7 separate regions of the Homo sapiens genome follow, and all the other regions are linked to region 5. The links are contacts of gene promoters, found by promoter capture Hi-C in blood cells and fetal thymus (Javierre and others, 2016). All regions are on one chromosome and are shown on one strand. Each heading gives the region's core, a stretch centred on a gene start or on the middle of the fragment in contact. The rest is flanking DNA. Distances are from core to core; before and after follow the strand shown. Region 1 has its middle 5.7 kb from the start of CXCR1. Region 2 overlaps ARPC2 (actin related protein 2/3 complex subunit 2). Region 3 overlaps CNPPD1 (cyclin Pas1/PHO80 domain containing 1). Region 4 overlaps SLC11A1 (solute carrier family 11 member 1). Region 5 holds the start of RNF25 (ring finger protein 25). Region 6 has its middle 22 kb from the start of CXCR1. Region 7 holds the start of CATIP (ciliogenesis associated TTC17 interacting protein).

What was found. Contacts are between HindIII fragments. The CHiCAGO score rates a contact against its expected background, and 5 or more counts as called.
Region 1: a contact is called between a fragment that was not itself captured here and the fragment with the promoter of RNF25 in region 5, in 1 of 17 cell types (erythroblasts). The highest score is 6.1, in erythroblasts.
Region 2: a contact is called between a fragment that was not itself captured here and the fragment with the promoter of RNF25 in region 5, in 5 of 17 cell types (naive CD4 T cells, fetal thymus, total CD8 T cells and 2 more). The highest score is 7.4, in naive CD4 T cells.
Region 3: a fragment that was not itself captured here is called in contact with the fragment with the promoter of RNF25 in region 5 in 3 of 17 cell types (fetal thymus, activated CD4 T cells and total B cells); the score reaches 6.3 in fetal thymus.
Region 4: a fragment that was not itself captured here is called in contact with the fragment with the promoter of RNF25 in region 5 in 2 of 17 cell types (fetal thymus and naive CD4 T cells); the score reaches 5.5 in fetal thymus.
Region 6: a fragment that was not itself captured here is called in contact with the fragment with the promoter of RNF25 in region 5 in 7 of 17 cell types (fetal thymus, total B cells, naive CD8 T cells and 4 more); the score reaches 7.6 in fetal thymus.
Region 7: a contact is called between the fragment with the promoter of CATIP here and the fragment with the promoter of RNF25 in region 5, in 10 of 17 cell types (naive CD8 T cells, non-activated CD4 T cells, naive B cells and 7 more). The highest score is 9.9, in naive CD8 T cells.

What each region holds. Positions count from the first base shown.
Region 1 is chr2:218,159,768-218,162,726 of GRCh38, forward strand. No RefSeq gene overlaps it. Among named protein-coding and RNA genes, the nearest start is that of CXCR1, 5.7 kb to the right of the region's middle. The HindIII fragment of the contact is 2,194 bases long and covers 563-2,756 here.
Region 2 is chr2:218,229,339-218,232,111 of GRCh38, forward strand. The region is part of intron 4 of ARPC2 (actin related protein 2/3 complex subunit 2); the gene reads left to right. Among named protein-coding and RNA genes, the nearest start is that of ARPC2, 14 kb to the left of the region's middle. The HindIII fragment of the contact is 1,516 bases long and covers 540-2,055 here.
Region 3 is chr2:219,172,940-219,175,928 of GRCh38, forward strand. It overlaps CNPPD1 (cyclin Pas1/PHO80 domain containing 1), which reads right to left. Exons shown (of 8, transcript NM_015680.6): 3 at 2,652-2,733; 4 at 2,049-2,169; 5 at 1,839-1,967; 6 at 1,207-1,268; 7 at 411-528; 8 at 1-189. Among named protein-coding and RNA genes, the nearest start is that of CNPPD1, 2.5 kb to the right of the region's middle. The HindIII fragment of the contact is 3,353 bases long and covers 1-2,935 here.
Region 4 is chr2:218,384,215-218,387,275 of GRCh38, forward strand. It overlaps SLC11A1 (solute carrier family 11 member 1), which reads left to right. Exons shown (of 15, transcript NM_000578.4): 3 at 29-151; 4 at 933-1,052; 5 at 2,421-2,527; 6 at 2,946-3,016. Among named protein-coding and RNA genes, the nearest start is that of SLC11A1, 3.5 kb to the left of the region's middle. The HindIII fragment of the contact is 3,664 bases long and covers 1-3,061 here.
Region 5 is chr2:218,670,442-218,673,293 of GRCh38, forward strand. It overlaps RNF25 (ring finger protein 25), which reads right to left and starts at 1,561. Exons shown (of 10, transcript NM_022453.3): 1 at 1,489-1,561. The coding sequence starts at 1,529. STK36 (serine/threonine kinase 36) reads left to right here and starts at 1,645. Exons shown (of 27, transcript NM_015690.5): 1 at 1,645-1,774; 2 at 2,300-2,472. The coding sequence starts at 2,389. RefSeq lists an enhancer at 1,466-1,565. The HindIII fragment of the contact is 1,597 bases long and covers 1,013-2,609 here.
Region 6 is chr2:218,187,593-218,190,456 of GRCh38, forward strand. No RefSeq gene overlaps it. Among named protein-coding and RNA genes, the nearest start is that of CXCR1, 22 kb to the left of the region's middle. The HindIII fragment of the contact is 6,006 bases long and covers 1-2,864 here.
Region 7 is chr2:218,355,551-218,358,748 of GRCh38, forward strand. CATIP (ciliogenesis associated TTC17 interacting protein) reads left to right here and starts at 1,307. Exons shown (of 10, transcript NM_198559.2): 1 at 1,307-1,359; 2 at 1,545-1,637; 3 at 1,984-2,184; 4 at 2,487-2,542. The coding sequence starts at 1,335. CATIP-AS2 (CATIP antisense RNA 2) reads right to left here and starts at 2,416. Exons shown (of 4, transcript NR_125777.1): 1 at 2,364-2,416. RefSeq lists an enhancer at 1,202-1,713. The HindIII fragment of the contact is 20,732 bases long and covers 1,186-3,198 here.

The DNA of each region.
Region 1 (2,959 bases), core at 410-2,909, 510 kb before region 5:
GAAGGCAGTATTTGTGTTTGCTTGGATTGGGGTGAAAGCAGGAGAGGGACTGGGAGAATATTACATTCTCAAAGCCAAAAGAGAGAGTCAGTGATGATAGCTAAACCTGGAGGGGGAGAAAAACAAGAACTAGCAGAGGGCTGGTCACAGTGGCTCACACTTGTAATCCCAGCACTTTGGGAGGCTGAGGTGGGGGGATCACTTGAGGTCAGGAGTTCAAGTGATGAACTGGCCTGGCCAACATGGTGAAACCCTGTCTCTACCAAAAAATGCAATAATTAGCCAGGCGTAATGGCGGGCACCTATAGTCCCAGCTACTCAGGAGGCTGAGGTGGGAGAATGACTTAAACCAGGGAGGCGGAGGTTGCAGTGAGCTGAGATCATGCCACTGCACTCCAGCCTGGGAGACTGAGTGAGACCAAAAAAAAGAAAAAAACTAGCAGAACAAGTATGATATTTAGAAATATATAGATCACTATCCGATGAAACAGCTATGAGAGCTGACAGCTGCTGCCCTTGTCTGCAGGGATTGGAGCTGGAAGGCTGCTGGTTTTTTGTTATAAGCTTCATAAAGCCATTTCGTTTTTTCAACAATGTGTATAAAATACTTAGACAATAGAAAGAAAATTTAATCTTAAAAAGTCGAGTTAACATATTTCGATTATTTTTTATTTATTATGTCTTTGATTCATTTCTACCCTGAAGGTTGGAAGGAAGACTTTGGATTTAAAAACTGAATACCAGGCTGCAAGAAAACATTGGTGCTGAGAGCTCCGCCGTTAGCTCCTTGTGGCTTTCTGGGTGGAACCTAGAGTGGCCTCTCTGACCTCTGCATGGAAACGGCAAAAGACAGGGCTCCACCACTGTCTCTTGGTGAGTGGTCTTCTCTAGGAAGGCACCTCTTTGGGACGATCCTTAGACCAAAGAGGAGATTGTCATGTTACTCATTTGCATCTATGAGATTTTTCAGTCTCTGAAAGACTCTTATTAAAATACTACTTTGCTGAGAAAGGGGCAAATTTTACCTCTATGGCATAAAATGTTGATTGTCAATTAGTATTTTTGCTGGAATTAACAAGAATGGGCCAGGGGATGGAGGGCAAGGGGTGGTGAGAGGCTGTGGTTGGTCAGAAGTGGAACTGGTTTAGGGGAAAACAGTAGATTTTCACATTTTGATTTAGAGTCTCAAACGTTGTCACCAAGGCTACAAAACAAACTTTAGGATTTTAACATCAGGAAGCATTGTGCAGAACATGCCGTTACATCCTAATCCCCGTCCCTCACCTTACCCTGATGTACATCCCCTCTGTAATCCCAATCTCATCACTGACCCCTCCCATTTCTGACCCCCACTCCTGTCCTAAGATTCACCCCATCCCTAGTGCCAGCCCCATCCTGGACAAGGGAGTCCCTCCTTAAGGCAAACACTCTCCCTGGCTCTGACTGGATCTAATCCTCACCCTATCTAGTAATTGAAATATCAGTTTTTGGTACTTCAATATGCTGTTAACTAAGTACCAAAATCCTGACATTTTTTAAAAATCTGAAATCCAAATCATTTGTGTCTTGAGCTATACCCAGAAAATTACAGGCTGCATTAGAATTTCCAATCAGCCTGGGTGCAGTGGCTCACACCTGTAATCCCAGCACTTTAGGAGGCCGAAGCAGGCAGATCACTTGAGCTCAGGGGTCCAAGACCAGCCTGGGCAACGTGGCAAGACTCCATATCTACAAAAAATTTTAAAAATTATCTGGGCATAATGGCGCACAGCTCTGGTCCCAGCTACTCTGGAAACTGAGGTTGGAGGATCACCTGAACTCAGAAGGTTGAGGCTGCAGTGAGCTGTGTATGCACCACTGCACTCCAGCCTGGGTGACAGAGCAAGACCCTGTCTCATTAAAAAAAAAAAAAAAATCCAATCGAAAAATGTTGCACTTGTTTGAAGAGTCCACTATATCCCTCCCCTGTTTAAAACACTTCTGAGTTATTTTGTTGCTGTTTGAGCCTCATTTAGTTCCTAGTGAGACTGAGCATTTTTCATGAGGTTATGAGTCATTTGCATTTCCCCTGGACCCAGTGTGGATCCCTATTTACTTACTGAAGCCTCTGATGGAGTTGTCCTTGCAGGAGCATAAGGTGAAGAAGGAGGAAGTTGGACTTTGAGGAAACAGTAGGAGAGGTGGAGGGAGATCAGCGGAGGGAGGAGAGGAAAAGGAGGCCCCAGTTCTCAGCCTTCTGCCCTAGATTCTCTGTGCATCCTTTGCATCCTTCTTGTCTTCTCTGCTGAATCAGGTCTATCTCTTAGGGCTCGAGTGCCTAACTCCCTCCTCACTCACCTGCCTGGAGAGTCTTAAGCAGGACAGACTGAGGAGCCTCTGTCTTTTGGCCCCGGAAGAGGATCTTAGATGATGCTCCAGATAGGATGGTGACCCTACCAGGCACGTCTTCTGCTCCAGCCTTATAGCTACTAAGCCTTCCCTGATATTCATTCCAGGCCTGACACCCCCTCCCTGAGCCTCACCACTCCCCCACACTTATCCCATTCCAAAGTCTCACTCTCCATATCTGGTCCCAGCTCCATGTTGAATCTCCCTGTTCCCAACACCTCACTGTGACCCTGACTCTCACTCTCCCTCCTTGTAGATCTCTACCGATTCCTGGCATTCATCCTTCTCTGACCTCATCCCAAGCTGCCACCCCATCCCTGCCCCCATCCCAGCTTTGATTTCAACATCAATCACTGATCCCCATCTGAAGCTTGATCTAGGTCCTGTCTCTGAGCCTCACCCTATTCCCAACCTCAAGCCTTCCCTGATCCTTCCCCACACAGGCTAAACCCACACTCTCAGTTTTGCTTAAGCTAGTTTGACTTCTCTTTCTATCATTTGCCATCAGAAGAGCCCTGACATCTTAAGTCCTCACTTGGGACATTTTTACACAGATAAACATCTAATGAAG
Region 2 (2,773 bases), core at 48-2,547, 440 kb before region 5:
ACATTATGAAACTTCGGTGGCCATGCCTTGTTCACTGGCTTCTTTAAATAGTTAAGTAGCAGGTTTGGTTCCTGTTGAACTGTATTTGCTCTGAGGAGAGCCATTTATGGAAGAAAGAAAATGCTATTACACCAGTTTGTGCACGCTGTGGTTGGGTCTCAAAGCAGGAAATATGACTCAGTTCCTGAATCAGTTTTCAAATTTCTTAGTTTTAACAAACTAGGTTCTCCTTAATCTGTTAAATGAAGATATAACCATAGCTGTTTCTTTCTGAAAAGTAGTAGCTTTTGAATTATTTAAAACTTATATAATAAAAGATGATTTGTAAAGGAATATGGTCAAAAGCTTGTTTAATTTTTTAGCATAAAAACTAAAATTAGTCTTAATACCAAGAGCCATTGGTTGCTTCCCTTAGTTATTCAAATGCAATTGATTTTCTCATAAGTTCAAAGAAAGAAGAAATATTTAGAGGATTTGGAATCCAGATTAGTTTACTGGAAAAAGAAAAGCTTCAGAAAGAAGACCTAGTGCTTTTATAAAGCTTATGAAGAATTGTTTTGTAAAAGATAGTGGCTGACACTTCTTTACCAGATAAAGAGTGAAAGAAAACAAATGGCTATTAAAGCAGCCCTGCCTCTTTTTTTTTTTTGAGGTGGAGTCTCACTCTGTTGCCCCAGGCTGTACTGCAGTGGCGCCAGCTCAGCTCACTGCAACCTCCAACTCCTGGGTTCAAGCAGTTCATCTGCCTCAGCCTCCTGAGTAGCTGGGATTACAGGCATGCACCGCTACACCTGGCTAATTTTTTGTACTTTTCATAGAGATGGCGTTTCACCACATTGGCCAGGCTGCTCTCAAACTTCTGACCTCAGGTGATCTGCCTGCCTCGACCTCCCACAGTGCTAAGATTGCAGGTGTGAGCCACCGTGCCCAGCCTTTTCTTTTTTTTTTCTTTTTTTTTTTTTTTTTTTTTTTTGACAAGGTCTTGTTCTGTCACCTAGGCTGGAGTGCAGTGGCACAATCACAGCCACTGCACCCCTCAACCTCCCAGGCTCAAGCAGTCCTCTCACCTCAGCCTCCTGAGTGTCTGGGACTACAGGCACGTGCCACCACACCTGGCTTATTTTTTGTTTGTTTGTTCTTTAGAGAGAGGAGGTTTCACTATGTTGCCCAGGCTAGTTTCAAACTCCTGGGCTCAAGCAGTCCTCCTTCCTGGGCCTCCCAAAGTGCTGGGATTATAGATGTGAGCCACCATGTCCAGCTGCATCGCTGCTTTGGATCAGCTATAACTACCTGAAAAGAAGTGTTAAAATATTTGAATAGACTTTTTTTAAATTGTGTAATCATTCTCCCCTAGACAGTCTTCACTAGGTGCAAGCCTGCACAGTGGCACACACCTGTAGTGCCAACTGTGTGTTGGGACTTCACACAGTTGGCTTGAGGGGTTCAAGTGGGGAGAGTTGCTGGAGCCCAGGAGTTCAAGTCCAGCCTGGACGACATAGTGAGATTCCACCTCAAAAAAAGGAAAAGATCTAAATGCAATAATAATAATCCTGGAAAGAAAGAGTTAAGCTAGATTTCTTAAATCTCCTTTCCATTCTGTGCTTTTCTTACGATGGAGCTCCAGAACACATTGCTATTCTTGTAGCTACCACAAGGGTCAAAGAACCAGCCCCACCCACTCAAGTGGGTGGAGTAAGTAACATTCATAGTGTTGGAGCAGAGTGCACAGTAAATGGCTCCCTGGGTTGGTTAAACAGTGACCAACCCATGATAACCACAGGAAGGTTATTACTTTGTCACAGGCCATTTTTAAAGGTGGAATGCCTCTGCTGCTAGAGTGGGAAGGTAATGGTGATGAGTGATAGGTTGCCTCCACCCATCTCCTGGTGTCATTGGGAGAGGGGGTACAAACTGAAAAGTGAATCATGGTTAAAAGTGCAAGTGAAGTGACAAGGAAGTGTTGGCTGGTTTTACCAAGGGGAGGGAGCAAAGCAGTTGAACATGATATAAATTTGGCTCTCAGTACCTCTTAGATCTCAGAATATTAACTTAGTAAGCTTGAAATTAAACTAAATCTTAGGGACTTAGGGATTTAAACTAAATCCCCACCACATCTGATTTCCCCTTCCTCGAAATACCAATAGTACGTGCAACACAGACTTGTAGCTCAGAGGTCGCATGCTGTTTCAAATTCTTGGGATATGCATGTTACTTTTTTTTAAAGAAGTGGTATATCAGACACCTGAAGGTCAAGTCTCTCTGTGCCACCAAGAAACTCTCGTGACCTTGAGCCCCTCCTCTCAATTCCTCTTCGGTAAAAGAAATACCTCACAGTGGCTGTGCAATCACCAAATAGGAACTACAGGTGGCATTATTTATCTTTTGCCCTTGTGTAAGAAAATGTAGTCTTGCAGGTTGAAAATTTCTTCCAGCTATAGGAAAATGGTTAAATAAATATGTGGAATATTAGGAAATTATTGTTCAGCCAGGCGTGGGGGCTCATTCCTGTAATCCCAGCACTTTTGGAGGCCAAGGCAGGAGCATCGCTTGAGGTCAAGAGTTCAAGCCCAGCCTGGGCAACGTAGTGAGACCCTGTCTTTGTATATAAATAAATAAGTAGGCCAGGCGCAGTGGCTCACGCCTGTAATCCCAGCACTTTGGGAGGCCAAGACAGGTGGATTGCTTGAGGTCAGGATTTCGAGCCCAGCCTGGGCAACATGGTGAAACCCCATCTCTACTAAAAAATATAAAAATTAGCTTGGTGTGGTGGTGG
Region 3 (2,989 bases), core at 9-2,508, 500 kb after region 5:
AGCGAGAGACGGCAGGCATTGTGGCACAGAAGGTATGCAGGGCTCCAGGAGGCAACGGGAGGTCAGTCCAAGGTCAGGCGGCCCAGGTGTAGGGATGCAGGACAGCCCCAAAGACTGATGTATTACGGCCACCGATGCCACAGCCAGGGCCACACTGCTCACATATGCCACAGCTAACAGGCAAGACAGCTGCAGGAGAGGAGATAAGAAAGAAGGAATCTGTCTTTAACACATTCACCCCTTGTCTCTAGAAATCTGTGTTCCAGTTGGAGGTCTCTATAGCCATTTACACCCCACTCTGCCCATCTATTCCCAACCCCATCTCCTGGGCTTTTCAGCAATCACTTCACACCATCCCACCCTACACACCGGCCTGCTCAAGCTCCCTATCCTTCCGAGCCCCTCCTCACCTTTACCAGCCGCTGGCAGAGGGAGCCCAGGGCCAACTGCCAGGTCGGCTGCTCCAGCAGCACACACAGGTCTGTGTAGGTGTACCAGCCTCGCCACCGTCCCTGCTGCTCAGCCACACTGGGGGAAGTGGAGAAATGACAAGAGTATGCAACTGTCCTGCAGCCAGCCCAGTGGCACCCTCATACCACTCAGGACCCACCAGGAAACACTGGGAAGCCTGTTAAACCCAGATTCCTAGGCTATCTGCTGATCTAGAAACTAAGGGTGAGACCAAGACCTATATTTTATTTATTTTTATTTATTTATTTTGTTAAGACAGGATCTTGCTGTCTCCCAGGCTGGAGTGCAGTAGTGCAATCATAGCTCACTGCAGACTCAACATCCTGGACTCAAATGATCCTCTTGTCTCAGCCTCCTGAGTAGCTGGGATTATGGGTGTACACCACTGCATCTGGCTAGTATTTTTTTCTGGTAGGGTCAGGCATCTTGCTATATTGCCCAGGCTGGTCTCGAACTCCTGGACCCAAGTAATCCTCCAGCCTCACCCTCCCAGAGTGCTAGGATTATAGACATAACTACCATACCCACCCAATACATGTATTTTAAATAAGCTGCTTCTCACCTTCCCAAAGGTGATGAAGAAGAGGACAGATGGGTCTGGGAACCACTATCTGGGCAATTCTCTTTCTTGTCTCCTCCCTCCCCCAGTTACACAGACTCTCATCTCTAGCTCCTATGGCTGAGGACTCAGCCCCCAAATCCCTCGAGCCCTTCTTCCCAACTCCTAGAACCTACCAGCTCTCCAACCAGCTCAGCACCTCAAAGATCTCCCGAGGGTCAGTGTAGAGATGCCAATCCTGTGAGTACGGAGAGTGGACATCAAACCAGACTTGGATGAGCCACAGTCATTTAATAATAAGAGCCATAGCAGCAACTACAACCGCCCCTATGGCTAATGCATATTTGGCACTTACCATGTGCCAGATACTGTCTCAAAAGTTTTTACACATTAACTCATTGAATCACCACCTGCCTGGTTTCACATTATACTCTCCACTAAGCAAGAGGGGAGAAAATGACCCTGAGAATGGTCTGTGTCCACAGGGAGCTAAACATCTAGGGGCAGAGAAAGTATGGACACAAATATTCAGAACCCAATAGGATAAACTCTGACTCAGAGTGTACCCTGTGGGGCCCTGGAGGAATAGAGGAGGCGAGGAAATGTTCTGCTCTTGGCCTTACTGCTCTACGAATCTCCAAAAACTGGTTAGTACTGAAGAGATAGGAAAGGAAGACACTAACACAAAGGCAGGAGGAGGACAGGAAGAGAAATGACGAACCAACAGAAGACTGAGAGAGAACAAAGGACTAAAGGACGGTTAAAGATGGGCCAGGGAAACTGAGCAAGAGAGAGAACAGCTGCTCACCATGGCACTCAGGAAGCCCCTCTCCAAGGCATTGAGAGTGGGCACGGCCACACCCCCAGCAGCTCCCCATTCGTCGTTGAAGACCTCCTCCTCCTCCCCTTCATCATAGAGGTACTTACTGGCCACCATCTGCAGAGGAACCAGAAGTGGTGGAGCAGAGCTCATAGCAGGCTCTTGGCTCTTTAGGGAGATGGGGAGGGGGTGTCTTACCATGGAGATCAGGAACAAGTCAGAGGATGACACATGCTGCAAGTAGTCTGGGTTTCGGTGCCGGAGCCGTTCAATGTACACCAGAGCCAGCATCATAGCACATGGGGAGATGCATGCCTCCCTGGGTGGTAGAAAGGATCACTAATTAAACCCAAGGGTCCTTCAGCTCTTGCAAGTCTTATGATGCTCGTTCCTGTCTTTACCTCTTATCTTTGGAAAAAAACTATTCCTGGCTGGGCACGGTGGCTCATGTCTGTAATCCCAGCACTTTGGAAGACCAAGGTGGGTGGACTGACACCAGGAGTTTGACACCAGCCTGGCCAACATGGTGAAACCCCGTCTTTACTAAAAATACAAAAATTAGCCAGGGGCGGTGGTGTGTGCCTGTAGTCCCAGCTACTGGGGAGGCTGAGGCACAAGAATCACTGGAACCCAGGAGGCGGAGGTTGCGGTGAGCCGAGATTGTGCCACTGCACTCCAGCCTGGGTGACAAAGTGAGACTGTCTCAAAAAAAAAAAAAAGAAAGAAAGAAAAGAAAGAAAAGACGATTCCCCTTTCTCTAGGGCCCAAACACTCTCATCCTATCCTCATTTCCAGGCTCACCGGGACACATGAGCTACATATTTCTTCTGGAGTCGGCGAATAGGGCTGGGGGCTGCCTTCTGGAGCAGTTCGACAGCAATGTCTGCAAGGGACAGAAGGAAGGCCGAGTGAGCAAACAAGCACCCACACCCAACACACCAGTCCCCACTGCTAGCAGAAGACCCAGATCTGTATTTTCTGAGGCCTTGGGGACAGGACCATAGTAACAAAATAGAGATCAAATTCTCACACACTGAGACAAAAAGCCCATTCCAAGTTCGAATTTCAGCTCATTCTAACAGGAAAGCTTATTGCCCTGTCACATCAAACTATCCAGATTTATCTGTCACTGCTGTTCA
Region 4 (3,061 bases), core at 285-2,784, 290 kb before region 5:
TCACTCTACTCCTCCCACCCCCCAACAGGGCACCTTCAGCCTGCGGAAGCTATGGGCCTTCACGGGGCCTGGCTTCCTCATGAGCATTGCTTTCCTGGACCCAGGAAACATCGAGTCAGATCTTCAGGCTGGCGCCGTGGCGGGATTCAAAGTAACTAAGTCGGGACCTGAGTGGGGACACTTTCGAGAGGGAGGTGACCAGGCTAAGTGTTGAAGGCCCCTGCTGGCCATGTTTCTCCAATGTGGCCTGGGAGCTGGTGTTAAGTTCAAATGGGCCCGAAAAGGGTCCCCAGGGCAGCCCTGCCAGAAGGTGGGGCATTTGTGTGGGGGGTAGGGGACTGGACTCCTCTCTTTAAAATATATATATGTATATTTATTTATTTATTTATTTAATTTTATTTTTTGAGACTCAGTCTCACTCGGTCACCCAGGCTGGAGTGCAGTGGCACAATCTCGGCTCACTGCAACCTCTGCCTCCCGGGTTCAAGTGATTCTCCTGCCTCAGCCTCCTGAGTAGTGCATGCCACCACGCCTGGCTAATTTTTGTATTTTTAGTAGAGATGGGGTTTCACTGTGTGGGCCAGGCTGGTCTTGAACTCCTGACCTCAAGTGATCCACCGCCTCGGCCTCCCAAAGTGCTGGGATAACAGGTGTGAGCCACCTTGCCTGGCGTAATTTATTTATTTATTTAGAGATGGGGGTCTCACTATGTTGCTCAGGCTGCTCTTGAACTCCTGGACTCAAGCAATCCTCCCACCTTAGCCTTTTAAAGTGCTGGGATTACAGGGTGAGCTACCAGCGCCCAGCCAGGATGGGACTCCATCTCTCCCACCCCCTCCCCGAGGAGTATGCTTGGTTAGAGGGTACCACGAGCTCAGGGGCTTTCTGAGGCTGGCCTCTCTGGCTGAAGGCCTCTCCCTGCCTCCTCACAGCTTCTCTGGGTGCTGCTCTGGGCCACCGTGTTGGGCTTGCTCTGCCAGCGACTGGCTGCACGTCTGGGCGTGGTGACAGGCAAGGACTTGGGCGAGGTCTGCCATCTCTACTACCCTAAGGTGAGCTTGGGGGGCCTGGACAGGGAGAACCACTGGCCCCAAACCCCAAACAGCCATTTTCAGCTTCCACGATCAAATAAATACATCATCTCACATGGGGCATCCCAAGTCTGTTTGTTTTTGTTGTTGTTTGTTTGTTTTTCAGTCGGAGTCTCGCTCCGTCGCCCAGTCAGGAGTGCAATGGTGCGATGTCAGCTCACTGCAACCTCTACCTCCCAGGTACAAGTGATTCTCCTGACTCAGCCTCTCAAGTAGCTGGGATTACAGGCGCCCACCACCATCATCGGCTAATTTTTGTATTTTTAGTAGAGCTGGGGTTTCACCATGTTGGCCAGGCTGGTCTCAAACTCCTGACCTCAGATGATCCACCCACCTCAGTCTCCCAAAGTGCTGGGATTACAGGCATGAGCCACTGCATCCGGCCCCAATTCCATTTGATAGATGGAAAGACTGAGGCTCAAACTGATAGCACATAGCCTAGAGGGACATGAGAGGCATGTCATTTCACAGAAGGGGTAATTAAAATTTGGGAAAGAGACTTGCCCAAGACAAAAAATGGGGAGGCATCAGCTCAGGAATGGTCACTGGTTGGGGTGGACCCTGGGGACTTCGTTGTTGTGAGTGTCCAGTTTGGAAAACAGAAATTACAGCACTGGACATTTCAAAGGTATTGAATGCAGGGATTGAAAGGTTTGGGAGGGCTTGAGGGGCAAGGGAAGAGGGTGTTACAAAAAGATCAGAAAGCTGCTACACCTCTGGCACAAGCCCCAGAGCCATCCTTTGCTGCTGAGCTCCTGGAAGCATTATTGATGCTGATGAAATGGCCACTAGTGCTGCCAGAGTCCGGGTTGCCTGGTGCCACTGCCAGAAATACAAGAAGCAGGGGGAGAAAATGGTTTATCTCAGCCTGGGGCGGTGGCTCACGCCTGTAATCCCAGCACTTTGGGAGGCCAAGGCGGGTGGATCACCTGAGGTCGGGAGTTCGAGACCAGCCTGACCAACATGGAGAAACCCCGTCTCTACTAAAAATACAAAACTAGCCGGGCATGGTGGCACATGCCTGTAATCCCAGCTACTCGGGAGGCTGAGGCAGGAGAATCGCTTGAACACGGGAGGCGGAGATTGTGGTGAGCCGAGATCATGCCATTGCACTCCAGCCTGGGCAACAAGAGCAAAACTCTATTTCGAAAAAAAAAAAAAAAGTTTATCTCTGCCTTTCCATCTCCTGTATGCTCTTCCTACATAAGGTAGGAAGCCCATTGGCCAGACTGTCTAGTAAATGTAGTCTGAGACGACAGACAAATGTAGTCTGAGACGACAGGCAAATAACCGGCCCACCCTTAATGAAGGATCATCTCCTCCCCATAGGTGCCCCGCACCGTCCTCTGGCTGACCATCGAGCTAGCCATTGTGGGCTCCGACATGCAGGAAGTCATCGGCACGGCCATTGCATTCAATCTGCTCTCAGCTGGACGGTACCACCCCAGTGTACCCCAACTCTTCAGGCCAGGCAGAGAACAGCTGCTGCTACTTCCCCCCCTAACCAGTCCCTCCCAGAGTCTATTTTATCCTGCTGTCCCCTCTGAAGCAGGGCTGCTGCCCTGTTTTCCAGAAATGTAAAGTGACTTGTCTAAAGTCACACAGATGTGAGTCATGCAGGACTTTGGGACTGCAGCCCCAAACTCCCTGCTGCGCCGGGTGCCAGGTCTCTCCTCTAGCTCTGCCCTGCCTCGACTGTTCTATGCCACACTCCCACTCCCCTTGCCCTAGCTGTCTGGGGGCGCTTAGGGTCCTGCTCCCAGGAGGCCAGATTCCTGTCTCCAGCCCTGAGGCTCCGTAGGAGTTAGAGACCCCTGGACCAGGCTGGGCTGACCCGGGCCACTCTGGTTTCAGAATCCCACTCTGGGGTGGCGTCCTCATCACCATCGTGGACACCTTCTTCTTCCTCTTCCTCGATAACTACGGTGGGTGCACACCCCACCTCATAGGGGAGTGGTGGTGGTGAGGGT
Region 5 (2,852 bases), core at 311-2,810:
TCCCAGCACTTTGGGAGGCTGAGGCGGGTGGATCATGAAGTCAGGAGATAGAGACCATCCTGGCTAACAGGGTGAAACCCCGTCTCTACTAAAAATCACAAAAAATTAGCTGGGTGTGGTGGCGGGCGCCTGTAGTCCCAGCTACTCGGGAGGCTGAGGCAGGAGAATGGCATGAACCCGGGAGGCGGAGCTTGCAGTGAACCGAGATTGCGCCACTGCACTCCAGCCTGGGCGACAGAGCAAGACTCCGTCTCAAAAAAAAAAAAAAAAAAAAAAAAAATTGGGGGAGTGGGGACTGAAGAATGTCCTAGTACAAAGAATCTAAGGTGTGGAGTCAGACAGATATGGATTTCTATTCATAATTTTCTATCTTTTGGCAAATCACTTTACTTCTTTGGGACTCATCTAGTCTTCCCAGGTGCCTGCACCTCAGTTATTAATGAAAAGGAGGCCGGGTGTGGTGGCTCACGCCTGTAATTCCAGCACCTTGGGAGGCTGAGGTGGGAGGATCACTTGAACCCAGGGGTTCAAGACCAGTCTGGCCAACATGGCAAAACTCCGTCTCTACAAAAAATACAAAAATTAGCCAGGCATGGTGGCACACACCTGTAGTCTCAGCTACTCGGAAGGCTGAGGCAGAAGGATCACCTGAGCCTGGGGAGGTCGAGGCTGCAGTGAGCCGTAATCGCACCACCGCACTCCAGCGTGGGCGAGAGTGAGACTCTGTCTCAAAAAACAAAACAAAACAAAACAAAAAACAGACTTAAGTATATTACAAATCCGTCGTGATCCTCTCAACTATTCTGAGGTAAATGCCACACCCACTTTTTTTTTTTACAGCTGAGGACACTGACTCACAGAAGCTAGATGGCCTGTTCAGCATCACACAGCTAATAAAATGTGGAGTTAACCCACATTGATCCTACTTCCAAATCCCAGAGTCCTTCCATGTTCTAGTCTTTGGTTAAGAATGCTTGAGAGAAGGACTAGAGGGACTTTATATGAAGTGTAAAGCTTTATTCATACAATAGTCCTCACTAGTGCTGTGTGAGAGAGAGAAGGCTGAGGAAAGCGTCGGCGGAAAAAGGCTGATCCAAGGGGAAAGGGGGCCGGAACTGGAGGGCACTGGTTCTGAGAGGAGAAAGGGAGATGGGGAGGTCTGATGGGCAGGCATCCCCCAAAGCCCCTGAGAAAATTCATTTGAGGAGGAGAGAAAGGGATGGCGTGAAGCTGGAGGAAAAGGGATCGAACCGGATGCGGCGAGGCCTGAACTGGCCTGGCGGGCGCCGACCCGTTCTCCTCTCACTCAGATCAGCGCCCCTCCACCCTCCCGTTCCCCAGTCCAGCTTTCCCAGAGATGTCAGCATCTCTGCCATCCCTCATCCCTCGCTCCACCCCACACGCCCGCCGTACGGACCGTCTGCGACAGCTGCTAGGCCTCTGGACTAGATCCAGGCTGTCAGCCAAAGCCCATGCCCCCAAAGTTACCAGTCCTCCTCCCCTGCAGCTGCAGACGCAGACGCCGCCATATCTTCACCGGCCCGCAGCCGGAACCGGAAATGCCCTTAGGGAAGTCGGAGGCGGAAAACTAAGAGGGGTGGGCAGCTAGCGTCGTTTCTAGGCAACCGCAGACTCCGGGTCCTTAGCCGGGCCTGATGGCCCTGAGGCAGTTCGGATGTGTCCCAGGAAGTGCCCATGTGTGGTCCGCCGTCCATTCCACACCTCTGAGCGCCTTTGTCCTCTGAACTTCTCACCAGTTCTAGCGAGTAAAATTGTAAGAAAGGGAGCCGAAAGAGACCGGAGGGAGAGGCGGGTGGAGAAGAATTATAAGTCAGGCAACGTATGCAGGCAGCCAGAAGAGATGGGGCTAAACGCCAGGGAATCCGTCCCTTGGCCTGAGGAGCTTGGAGCTCCTAGGCTGGGGGTGAGAGAGGGGCTCTGGCCTGCGAAGCGCACGGGCCAGGGGGTCTGAGAGCGGGTGCTGAGGAGTCTGGGAGTGGCAGGAACTTGGGGGAGACTCAAAGGAGCAGGGTTGGTTGGGCGAGGCTAGGTTGAAAGAGTAGGGTCGAGTGAGCCAGGCTGGGTGAGGGAGAAGGGGAACCAGGTGTTAGTTGGGCATGGGGCCGGGTTGGGGACAGGAGGATGAAAGTGGGGAGGAACTACAAAGAGAAGCTCTGTTTGTTCCAAGAGCGCATCATCTTTGCATGCATTCCACCCTCCCATGTTTTTTGAGGCTTTATTGTGAAAAAGAGGAAAAGGCAAGGTGGCTAACATTTTTCCTTTCCCGTGCCCCAACTAGGCGTCCCAGATGTTGTGGAACTGTCCCTGGATCTATAGCTCTTCACCGTCTCTACTTTCTTCCTTCTAAGAGATCCTGAAACCTCTGTCATGGAAAAGTACCACGTGTTGGAGATGATTGGAGAAGGCTCTTTTGGGAGGGTGTACAAGGGTCGAAGAAAATACAGTGCTCAGGTGTTGCACAAAGAGGGATACCTTTTGGGTGGGATTTGGTACCCCCAACTCCAGTGGAAAATGGATCTAGAAGGAATGTATTTATACCAGTTTGTATTCCTAAGGTACTGACTCCCTCATACTTCTTATGGAGTATAAGCTTTGAAGTTGGATTATTTGGGTGCAAATTCCATCTCCACCGCTTTCTAGCCCTAGAATTATGGACAAATTACTTAACTTCCCTATGTCTCAATTTCCTTATCTCTAGAATGGGGATAAGAACAGCAACTGATTGATGGAGTTTGAGGATTAAATATGTTTTCACATTAAATCACTTAGTACAGTGCCTGGCTGTTAGTAAACAACAAATATTATTAGTCTCTAGCACACCATGTAATAAG
Region 6 (2,864 bases), core at 247-2,746, 480 kb before region 5:
GGTGGAGGGGTTCTAGATGGAAACTGGGCAGATGGGAGACAGGTGGGAAGAAGACTCCTTGTGAATAGCTTTTAATTTTTTTTTTTTTGAAACATGTGACATAGTTCCCATTACATATTTTCAATGTTTAAAAAATAATTTTAAAATGTTAAACAGTCATAATTCAACCATGGTGGCAGGAGGTCTGTGGTGCAGCTGAGAAACTGCTCTAAGCTCTGGCATGTGCAGTTGTATGTCTTCTGGCTGCTCTGTCTCAATTTCCACCCACAGAGCCAAGGAAGCCTCCAGCCAATTCCAGGGAGCATCTTTCTGGGCCCTGGGTTTAGAGACCTGTGATTCTCTTTATTCCCTCTGCTCCAGATTCTCCAAATCAGCTCACTTTGGGCTCTCTTGGCCCTGTGTCTTTCCTGTCACTGGTTTGTCAACTGCCTCCACTCAGTGCCTCCCCTTAGCCCTTCCTGTCCTTACGGTTTCTAAATGCAATTCTAATAGCTTCACAAATGTGCTCCTCCACTTTCCTAGGCACCAAGGAAACCTTGACCCACAGGCTTTAATTTTACCCTTGCAGTGAATTCTTATTGACTTTCACTGACCACTGGAACCCACCTACTTGCCCTGAGAACACTCCCATTATCTTTCAATTAAAATAAGACCCTTGATTTATACTTTAATATACATATATCCAGGCTGGGCACAGTGGCTCACCCCTGTAATTCCAGCACTTTAGGAGGTCGAGGCAGGAGGATCGTTTAAGCCCAGGCATTCAAGACCAGCCTGGGCAACACAGTGGAACCTCATACCTCTACAAAGCAATTTTCAAAATTAGCCAGGTGTGGTGGAACACACCTGTGGTCCCAGCTACTCAGGAGGCTGAGGTGGGAGGATTGCTCAAGCCCAGGAGGTCAAGGATGCAATGAGCCATGATCACACCACTGCACTCCAGCCTGGGCAACAGACCAAAACCTTGTCTCAAAAAATAATTTTATATACATATATATACACACATGTATCCAGACTCCTGCTGAAACTACCTCTCCCTGTTCCAATGCCACACATCTAGTTCAGCCTGCAGATGAGTTTCTTTGACTGCCTGGGATTGGTTTCCTTGTTTGTTTAAATTAGAATTGGTTTCTGACTTTTAAACCTTGAGGCTTTTTCACATTTAAAAACATCTGGATTTATACACTCTCCTTTAAAATTTTGAAGATCTGGGCTGGGCGCCATGGCTCATGCCTGTAATCCCAGCTCTTTGGGAGGCCAAGGCGGGTGGATCACCTGAGGTCAGGAGTTCAAGAAGAGCCTGGCCAACATGGTGAAACCCTGTCTCCACTAAAAATATGAAAATTTGCTGGACATGGTGGCATGCACCTGTAATCCCAGCTACTCAGGAGGCTGAGGCGGGAGAATCACTTGAACCCGGGAGGTAGAGGTTGCAGTGAGCCGAGATCATACCATTGCACTCCAGCCTGGGAGACAAAAGCAAAACTCCATCTTAAAAAAAAAAAAAAAAAAAAAAAAAATTGAAGATTTGACAACACTGAGCTCATGGCAAAACTCAGCTAAACCTAGAATGTAAAAGAAATCCTAGAAATAGAGCCACACTTACACCATCACTTGATTTTCAACAGAAGTTCCAAAGCAATCCAGTGAGGGAAAGGAAGGTTTTATCAACAATGTGGGCCAGACACAGTGGCTCACGCCTGTAATCCACGCACTTTGGGAGGCCAAGGCAGGTGGATCACTTGAGGCCAGGAGTTTGAGACCAGCCTGGGCAGCCTGGCGAAACCCCATCTCTACAAAAAATGCAAAAATTAGCCAGGCGTGCTGATATGCACCTATAGTCCCAACTACTCAAGAGGCTGAGGTGGGAGAATTGTTTGAGCCTCGTAGGCAGAGGTTGCAGTGAGCTGAGACCCAGCCTGGGTGAAAGTGAGATTCTATCTGAAAAGAAAAAAAAGAAAGAAAAAGAAAAGAAATCTCATTACACAATCAAACATCACATCACCAGAATGACTAAAAATACAAAAGCATGATAATATCGACTATTAGTGGGTTGTAGTATAGCTGGAATCCTCACATATAATTAGTGGGAATGTAAAATGGTGCAAACACTTTGGTAAAAGGTCTGGCAGTTTCTTCTACTTTCTGACCCAGCAATCCCACTCCTAGGAATATGCCCAAGAGAAATGAAAATAATATGTTCACAAAAATATCAATAGCTTTATTGATAATTGCCAAAAACTAGAAACAGTCCAGGTGTCCATCAATAGGAGAATGGCTAAACATACAGTGGAATAGTCATACAATGGAGTCATTCTCATCAATAAAAAGGACTGAATTACTGATATACTCCACAACATGATGTATCTTAAAAACATTACACTGAGTAAAAGAAGCCTTCCACTTCTATGAAGTTCTAGAACAGGTGAAACTAATCTGAAAATAATCAGAGCAGAAGTTACCTCTGGGAGGATGGAGGCAGAGACAAACCAGCCATGGGGGGACATGAGAGGATTTTTAGGAATGATGGTAATGTTTTCTATATTGATGGGCATTGGGATTACACAGGGGCACCTATTAGTTGAAACTTAGTGAATATACACTTAAGATTTGTGCACTTCATTGTCTACAAATTTTACATCAAAAGAAAACACTAAAGGCCAGGTGCAGTGGCTCACGCCTGTAATCCTAGCACTTTAGGAGGCCAAGGTAGGAGGATCACTTGAGGTCAGGAGTTTGAGACCAGCCTGGCCAACATGGTGAAGCCCCGTCTCTACTAAAAATACAAAAATTAGCAGGGCATGGTGGCGCATGCCTGTAATCCCAGCTACTTGGGAGGCTGAGGCAGGAGAATCACTTGAATT
Region 7 (3,198 bases), core at 57-2,556, 320 kb before region 5:
CTTGAGCTCAGGAGTTCAAGACCAGCCTGGCCAACATGGTGAAACCCCATCTCTACTAAAAATACAAAAATTAGCCAGGTGTGGTGGCGGGTGCCTGTAGTCCCAGCTACTTGGGAGACTGAGGCAGGAGAATCACTTGAACCTGGCAGGAGGAGGTTGCAGCTGAGATCATGCCACTGCATTCTAGCCTGGGTGACAGAGTGAGACTCTTTCTCAAAAATAATTAAAACAAACAAATAAATAAATAAAAATAATAAAAATAAAAATACAAAAATTAGCTGGGCATGGTGGCACACTCCTGTAGTTCCAGCTACTCAGGAGGCTGAGGTAGGAGAATCACTTGAACCCAGGAGGCAGAGGTTGCAGTGAGCCAAGATGGCGCCACTGCACTCCAGACTGGCAACAGAGTGAGACTCTCTAAAAAAAAAAAAAAAAGCGCCTCACCAGGAATAAGTCCAGTCAAAGAGTTTGCTATGTTGTCATTGTTGTTATCATTATTGTTACATGTATTAGAACTGTAACTTGCAGAGATATTCATGTAGCAGCTAATTGGATAGTGTGCATTTGAGACTCTGTCTGACTTTCGTTCATATCTTCTAAGGTCATTTTTTTTTTTTTGAGACAGATTACAGGCATGTGCCACCACTCCCTGGTAATTTTTGTATTTTTAGTAGAGATGGGTTTCACCATGTTGGCCAGGCTGGATCTCAAACTCCTGGCCTCAAGTGATCCACCTGCCTGGGACTCCCAAAGTGCTGGGATTACAGGTGTGAGCCACCACACCTGGCCTCTTCTAAGGTCATTCTAATGACCCATTTCTTCACTCTGCCTCTTAAGAATATCAAATGTGGGCCAGGCGCGGTGGCTCACACCTGTAATCCCAGCACTCTGGGAGGCTGAGGCAGGAGGATCACGAGCTCAGGAATTCAAGACCAGCCTGGCCAATATGGTGAAACCCCATCTCTACTAAAAATACAAAAATTAGCTGGGCGCGGTGGTGTGCGCCTGTAGTCCCAGCTACTCGGGAGGCTGAGACCTCAAGAAGAATTGCTTGAACCCGGGAGGCAGAGGTTGCAGTGAGATGAGAATGCGCCACTGCACTCCAGCCTGGGTGACAGAGCGAGATTGCGTCTCAAAAAAGAAAAAAATATATATCAAATGCTCCCTCTGCTGGACAACACCTCAAGCTTGTGCTGAGCCCCAAACCTGCAGTGTCAGTTCCCTCCAAGGTCTGGGTGTAGTAAAGTGGGTTGATGGCCCTTTAAGAGGCACTGTCCAGCTCTGGTTGCCATGGAGACAGCTGGACACAGACCGGGTAGAGGCAGGCCCACAGCATGTCCTCCAAGGTTTACTCCACAGGTGGGAAGAGGACTGCTGGGGCTGGAGGCGGGGATCCTCTTCTTTCTTCCCAATCCACCCTCGGGGTAGTCTTAGAGGATTCTGTTCTTGGGTGCTGGGGCCAGGACTGAGGTACCCTGCCTTGCCTCCCTGACCCCTGCCCTTCTCCCCAGGGTCTGCCATCTTAGCCTCTCATCCCTCTGTAGGCTCCAGAGCTAAGGACCACCAGCCCTCGGGTCCGGAGTGTCTGCCACTCCCAGAGGCCAATGCTGAAGCCATCGACTTCCTCAGCTCCCTCCGTGAGCTCAGACAGTGTCGGGGTTGGGGGTGCGGGAGGGGTGCAAGTCTGGAGAGGAGGGAAGAAAGTCCAGTCTCTCTCTCTCTCTCTCTCTCTCTCTCTCTTCCTTGATTCTCCTGGGACTCAGAAAAGGCCTGAGGCCTGTTTGTTGACATTCTTCAAGGGAAGGCCCCCCGGGGACATGGGGACATGGGGCAGGAGTCTTCACCTGTCCGTGCCAGTGAGGAAGGCTGTGGGATGAGGAGGCAGGTGGGGACTGTGGGGACACTGGTGGTCATGGGGTCAGAGGATTGGATTGGGGCCCAGGAGCAGGGGCTTTATCTGTTCCCACGGGCCCCTCACCCCAGACAAGGAGGAGCTACAGATGCTGTTCTTCTCTGAGACGCTGGCCATGGTCTCAGACACCGGGGAGCCTCAGGGAGAGCTGACCATTGAGGTGCAGAGAGGGAAATACCAGGAAAAACTCGGCATGCTGACATACTGCCTCTTCGTGCATGCCTCTAGCCGAGGCTTCTTGGACAAAATGCTCTGCGGAAATTCCCTCCTGGGTAGCGTTCCTACTGCCTGATGCCCGTCACTCTCCCCTTCCTCCAACCCTCCCCTCCACCAATTCCTAGAATCTTTTTTCAGGACCAAGCCCTTGGCTTTGCCTTGGACCAGGACAAGGCACGGGGTGGGAGAGGGATGAGCGAGTTCCTCATGGACTCGGGATGAGGGCACATCTTACCCATCCTGTAGTTTTTCTGGGACCGTATTACACCTAGTCCTCCAGCTGCGCCACCACCTTCCCTTCCTTCAGCCTCTGACCCACATCTCCTGTGACGTCAATGCCTGTGTCCCTGCACCCCAGGCTATCTCTCAGAGAAGCTGGAGCTCATGGAACAGCACAGCCAAGACTTCATCAAGGTACTTCCCAGGGCCCCAGCCTTGACCCAATCCAGGGGAGAGAAGACAGATTTTGACTTAAAAAACAGCAGCAACAACAAACCAAAAAACCTATTACATACACAGTGAAGCTGAAGAATAGCAATCGTGTTATGATGCAATGTAAAGCTCAAAAGCAACGCACTTCAGAAAACTGATTTTAAAACACGGGGGTGGGCTGGGCACAGTGGTTCACACCTGTAATCCCAGCACTTTGGGAGGCAGAGGTGGGCGGATCACCCTGAGGTCAGGAGTTCGAGACCAGCCTGGCCAACATAGCGAAACCTCATCTGTACAAAAATTAGCCAGGCATGGTGGTGCACGCCTGTAGTCCCAGCTACTCAGAAGGCTGAGGCAGGAGAATCGCTTGAACCCAGGAGGCAGAGATTGCCGTGAGCCGAGATCGCGCCACTGCACTCCAGCCTGGGTGACAGAGCAAGACTCCGTCTCAAGAAAAAAATTAAAAAACAATGAGGGTGGGCCAGGCACAATGGCTCAAGCCTATAATCCCAGCACTTTGGGAGGCCAAAGTGGGAGGATCCCTTGAGCCCAGGAGTTTGAGCCTGGGCAACATGGCAAAACCCACCAAAAATGTTTATAAATTTTGTACAAAAAATACAAAAAGTAGCTGGGTGTGG